Regions from separate parts of the Homo sapiens genome. Here region 1 is linked to region 2. Evidence: promoter capture Hi-C in human tissues and cell types (Jung and others, 2019). All regions are on one chromosome and are shown on one strand. Each heading gives the region's core, a stretch centred on a gene start or on the middle of the fragment in contact. The rest is flanking DNA. Distances are from core to core; before and after follow the strand shown. Region 1 has its middle 12 kb from the start of TGM2. Region 2 holds the start of SAMHD1 (SAM and HD domain containing deoxynucleoside triphosphate triphosphohydrolase 1).

Region 1 (3,047 bases), core at 1-2,500, 1.2 Mb after region 2:
GACAGGGTGGTTTCTTTTTTAAGCTTTTTAAAATAAAATAAATCACCCTGTGCATGCACGATCCTGGAACCTCCAATTAGATTAACCCTATGGTTTCCTAAGCGGCAGCCAGCTGTGGGCACAGAGAGGTAGGAGGAAGGAAGCGACGGGGGCCTCACCTATGAGCCGGACTCACCTGCTTCCCAGGTCACCTCCCTTCCCACGGCTCACAGGACAGTACCCAGGCCCATCAGGAAGCTCAGAGGCAGAATGACTGAGGGTTTCAAGGCCCGACAGCTCCTAGCTGTACAACCTACTGCAAATTTCTTCATGTCTCTGACCTCAGTTTCCACACCCTGATAATGGGGGTAACGAGAGGACCAAGCTCACAGAGTAGTTAAGAATAAATGAGTTATTGCAGGGTTTAGTGTTTGGCGCAGGGAAAAGCTGCAGATGTTGACTGTTTTTAGTACTCTTATAATTACTTCTATGGGCTTTGAGGACCTCGATTCCAACTGCCCCCCTGCAAGTCAGCTCTGAGGGTAGGTGAGAGAGCATGGTCATTGTTCACCTCCTGTGTGCCAGGCTCTGTGTGAAGAAGCTTTATGCATGTGATTGCCCTCCACCTCCTTTTTTTTTCTTTTCTTTTCTTTTTTTTTTTTTTTTGAGATGGAGACTTTTGCTCTATCGCCCAGGCTGGAGTGCAGTGGCTTGATCTCAGCTCACTGCAACCTCCACCTCCTGGATTCAAGCAATTCTCCTGCCTCAGCCTCCTGAGTAGCTGAGATTACAGGCATGAGCCACCATGCCCGGCTAATTTTTGTATTTTTCATAGAGATGGGGTTTCACCATGTTGGCCAGGCTGGGTTCGAACTCCTGACCTCAGGTGATCTGCCCGCCTTGGCCTCCCAAAGTGCTAGGATTACAGACGTGAGCCACAGCGCCTGGCTGTGATTGCCTTTTGATTGTTTGTTTGTTCTCAGCCGCATCTGGCCACACAAGGACCGTAAGTTAATCCTTCTCTCAGGTAGTTCTATGTCTAGATGATGAATGGCTCCATCACCCAACTTCCAGATGTAAAGAGTAGGGGTCAGAGGCCGGGTGCGGTGGCTCACACCTGTAATCCCAGCACTTTGGGAGGCCGAGGCGGGCAGATCACGAGCTCAGGAGATCAAGACCATCCTGGCTAACACGGTGAAATTCCACCTCTACCAAAAATACAAAAAATTAGCCGAGTATGGTGGCGGATGCCTGTGGTCTCAGCTACTCGGGAGGCTGAGGCAGGAGAATGGCATGAACCCGGGAGGTGGAGCTTGCAGTGAGCCGAGACTGCACTACTGCACTCCAGTCTGGGCAACAGAACGAGACTCCATCTCAAAAAAAAAAAAAAAAGAGTAGGGGTCAGGGAGAGCAAGGAGCATGCCTCTGGTCACTGGGGGAACTTCTTGAGCTGGGGTGGGCCCTGTGATCTGTCTGGGTGGATTCATACTGGATCTGATCCCTTCCCTGTGGGTCCTGGTCCCATGCTCTGGCACAGACTACAGATGGGGAAAGTGAGGCACTTGCCCAGGACCAGATCTGCCCAGGTGCCAAGCCCGCACTTTTTGCAAAATACCAGCATTAGCTAGGGAGGGAGTAAGGATGAGAAGGGCAGCAGGAGGAGGTGGGTGGTATTGTTGTCCAGGTGGGAGAGGACGGAGGCTGGGCTGGGAGGTGGGAGGACCCTGCTCACACCCCCTTTGTGCACACTGTTTCTTGTGCTTTTTTATCCTTCACAGCTTAACCCCAGGATCACGTCTCGACGACAGCCGCCTCATCAACGGCCGCTTGGCCATCATTTGCCAAGGGCTTACTGAGTGCAGGGGCCCTGAAATGTACATGCATCGTCTTCAGTCTACTCACCAGCCCTGACTTTAAATGCCATCTATGTGCTGAAGGCTCCCACATTTGCATCTTCAGTCCTGTCCTCACTCTTAAATCCCAGGTCCAGGTTTCCAATCGCCTCCTCAAAATTCCTGCTGTGCCCCACCCGCTATTCACTCCCCCGCAGTATCCCCATCTCGGTGGAAGCAACACCACCATTCCCTATGCTCAGTCCCCAGGGTCAGCCTTGACTCCTCTCTCTCAGATCCCACCTCAATTTGTCAGGAAATCCTGGTTGCCCTGCCTTTAAAATGTCTCTAGAATCTGGCCACTTCTCACAACCTCTGCCTCTGCCACCATCATTCTGGTGCAAACCACCAGTTTCTTTCACCTGGACTAGGGCTCCCTGTTTTCCCCCTTGCTCCCCACTTCCAATCTGTATTCCACACAACAGCCAAAGGAATCTCTTTAAAACTTAAGTCAGTTCCTGCCACTCCTCTGCTCAAGAGCCTGCAGTAACCCCCTGCTTCACTCTGATTAAAGCCAAAGTTCTCATCAGGTCCCCAAGACCTCCACCATCTGATCCCGTTGTTCTCGGACTTTCTCTCTGACCACTCCCTGCTCACTTGGCCCCGGCACGCTGGCCTCCCTGCCATTCCTTCAGCTTGCCAGGCGTGTCCTCTGTTTAGAACTTTTGCACTGGTCGTTCCCTCGGCCTGGAGTGCTGTTCTTTGACTTGGTGGCCTGGGTATAGTGTGGCGCCTGAGAAGTCTGTGCTGCATCCACATGGCAGGCTCTGGAGAGTGTGGAGGGAACTTGGTGATGAAGGGACAGAGATTTGGCCCACACACATTAGATGCTGTGTGACCCTGGAGATTGCTTAACTGTGTCTCAATTTCCTCTTTAGCCAAATGGGCTCTAAGTGAGCTGATGATGTTACTGGGGTCCCTGACTCATTGTAGCTTGTGGGGAGAAAGTGGTCATGCCCTCAGAAACTGTCTGGTCAACCCTGCCATTGTAGAGCTGGGAACATTGAGGCCAGAGAGGAGTCCCATTGTCCAAAGACCCATAAACAGTTAGAGAGAGAGCTATGGGGTTTTTGAAAGATTAATTGACTTATTGAATAATTTCTTTATTGAACATTTATCGAGTTCCTACTGTAGGCTTAACTGTGAGTAAGACAGTTTCTGCTGGCAAGGAACTCT
Region 2 (3,051 bases), core at 308-2,807:
AAGGAACACACATCATTCTGGAGGGTAACGAGTTAATCTACAAACCACTGAAACAGAGAGCCAACCACATTTTGAGACAGAAAATATGGAACTACTTCACTCCACTTGTTGCTAGTCAAAGAAAATAAAGTAATAATCCATCCCAGCAGTGGAGGGAAACGAAAGGGCAAAAGGGGGAAGAAAAAAAAAAAAGGAGAAATGCAATTTCCCATACCCATTCAAGCTATCTTTGGGTCCTGAACCACTAATGTTCCTCCTACCCCAGTTTCCAACCTAGCCAAACAGGGCCCCACCTAACAAATGCAAAAATTTACTAAATTTGCAAATCCCAACCACCAAAGAATCACCTTCCTATTGGACACCTAGAGGATATAAGGCAGGAGTCAAATCTCACACCCACCACAAAAAGTTGAGTAGAATTCACAAGGATGGATGCTTGGATACGAATCAGTAAAATATGATTAAAACTCAACCTAAACACTTCTCCAGGGGATGTGGCCAAACTGTGGCATGCTGGGGATTCAGTGGTCAACTGAACAACCCCAAGGTTCAGATTTTGGAGGGGAACCTGCTTTTAAAGAGCAAAACATGTTCCTTACCATGTTCTGCAAGTGCAGTCAACACACGCCTATCGGGCGCTGCTGGGATGCCAAGGAAGGTGATGGGAATTCAGAGATTAACCAAGCCAGTTCCTTCCCCTTCAGGAAAAGCCTCAATTCAGGGAGGAAACCGAAACCTAAAAGCCCCAGAACATCCTCTGATGTGGCAAGTGTTCAAGGAGCTGCGGTTAGCGCGGAGGGGTCCCGCGAGCCTGGATGACAGCAAGCCGCCCACCAAGGTCTGGGGAAAAATCTCCTTCTAACTAAAAAAAAGGGACCCGAGTCTCGCTTGTCCCGCGCCGGGGTGGCAAGTTAGTGAAGAAACCCACGAGAGTGAGATCCCAATCTACGACTGCCCCTCCCAGGTCCTCAATCCCGGGAGCCTGCTCCCATCCTACGAATCGCCTATCCCAGGCGACCCCATGTCTTCTTCCTCCGCCTCGGGGAGTCAGTCCCGGGAGCCCCATGCCGCAGGCCCTCCTGGGAACCCCCGCCGCAGGGCTCCCTCCCCCGCCTCGGGTCTTCCTTTCCTCGGCGCCCCCAGCGCAGGTCCGCCCTCCCGGGTGCCTCCCGCCGCAGGGCTCGCTCCTCGGCCTCGGTCCTCTCGTGGGGCCCCCTCCCTCAGGGCGCCTGGCCCGCGCCCCAGGTCGCCGCCCTTCGCCCCTCAGCCCCTCCGGAGCCGCTACCTCGGATGTTCTTCAGCAGCACCGGCTCTTCAAAGCCACCGCGCCTGAGGAAGGAGCACACCTGCTCCGGACCCCATGTCTTGTAGTCGGGATGGAGTTCCAGGCCCGGGGACCAGTCTGCCTCTGCGGAAGGGGTGTTTGAGGGGGTTCTCGGGCTGTCATCGCAACGGGGACGCTTGGAGGGCTGCTCGGAATCGGCTCGCTGCATGGCTACACCTGGCGTCCGGCACAGCAGTCAAGAACCTCGGCGCCGGACCCGCGCGCAGGCGCACTGACAGCAGGGCCCTGGCGGGGAGTCCAAGGAGTATTGGCAGCCTATTGGCCTCCTGCGCAGGCTCACTGACAGTTGAGCCCTTCGGGCAGGGCAGCCTAGCGGCTCTTGCCTTGGGCTCCCTGCGCAGGCGCAATGGCAGTCCAGTCGTCCTCAAATCAATCCCGCCAGGGCGCTGGACGTGAACGCGAAAGGGCGTGGCTAGAAGCAGAACTGAGGGCAGTGCTGGTGGAAAGGGGGAGGAAAGAGCGCGCCCGGCACCGCACCCCCAATTAGGGGCTCGTCTAGTGAATTGGGGGTATTCTCCTTCGAATGAGTACACTACCCGCCGCACCTTGGCCGGGTTTCAGATGCCCCAAACTTAAAAGAAGCCTAAAAGGCCGTCAGGCTGCCAGCACCTTCCCAGTGAAGAGGAAAACAGTCAAGGTGCTGAACTGGAAGAACCCGGAATGATTTCAAATGTGACTTGAGGGTGTCTTCATTCCACAGTATTGCTGGTCAACTAGAGGGCCCTGGGATACCTGTTGTCTGGTGTCCACACAGGAGGGGACTTCAGACTTCTTTCCAACTAGAGACAGAGCCCTCCATCCCAACTGCATTCCCAGAGGAAGGAAAGTGGCCAGTCTGATTACTTAAAATTTAACTTCTGAGGACTTTTACTGCCTGGTTGTAACAGCATGTGAAAATGGCAGGCATTTTCCCATCACTTAACCCCTCTGCGGCAGGGCTCAAACTTCCCTATAAATACTGGTCCATGCAATTGCCTGGTAAAAGGACATATCACTATTACTGTTAATAAAGCCAACACACCTTCCCAGCAACCAAGGCATAGACCTGTTTAGGGGGTCAAGGACGAATGAGGCGGAATAGCTTATCATCAAGCAGTATGAACTAGTGGTCTACTGGTGAGCCAAAATATTATTTGCAAACAGAGCTTTACTGTGTGCCAGGCACGGTTCTAAGGGCTTTACAAATATAAAATAATTTTATATTTATACATAATACTAAATGAATTAAGTACATTCATTAAATTATTTAAATATTAAATAATTTTTATAACTTCTAAGGGTTTTACAAATATTGTAAAGTTCTAAGGGCTCTACACATATTACTTCACTTAATTATCACAATTACCTTAGGATGTAGGAAAAAGTAATTTGCCGCAGGTCTTCTTTTTTTTTTTTGAGACGGAGTCTTGCTCTGTTTCCCAAGCTGGAGTGCAGTGGCGTGATCTCAGCTCACTGCAACCTCTGCCTCCCAGGTTCAAGTGATTCTCATGCCTCAGACTCCCAAGTAGCTGGGACTACAGGCGCCTGCCACCACACCTGGCTAATTTTTGTATTTTTAGTAGAGACAGGATTTCACCATGTTGGCCAGGCTGGTCTTGAACTCCTGACCTCAGGTGATTCCCACACCTCAGCCTCCCAAAGTGCTGGGATTACACAGCCGTACCCAGCTGCCCAAGGTCTTACAGCTAGGAAATGATGAAGCCTGT

Evidence for each region. The method cuts DNA at HindIII sites, captures the fragments that hold promoters and counts their contacts. A contact is called where the count stands out against the background at its distance.
Region 1: a contact is called between a fragment that was not itself captured here and the fragment with the promoter of SAMHD1 in region 2, in 1 of the 25 tissues and cell types used here (heart right ventricle).

What each region holds. Positions count from the first base shown.
Region 1 is chr20:38,175,658-38,178,704 of GRCh38, forward strand. No RefSeq gene overlaps it. Among named protein-coding and RNA genes, the nearest start is that of TGM2, 12 kb to the left of the region's middle. The HindIII fragment of the contact is 5,193 bases long and covers 1-3,047 here.
Region 2 is chr20:36,950,151-36,953,201 of GRCh38, forward strand. It overlaps SAMHD1 (SAM and HD domain containing deoxynucleoside triphosphate triphosphohydrolase 1), which reads right to left and starts at 1,558. Exons shown (of 16, transcript NM_015474.4): 1 at 1,286-1,558. The coding sequence starts at 1,493. RefSeq lists a silencer at 1,053-1,272. The HindIII fragment of the contact is 37,170 bases long and covers 1-3,051 here.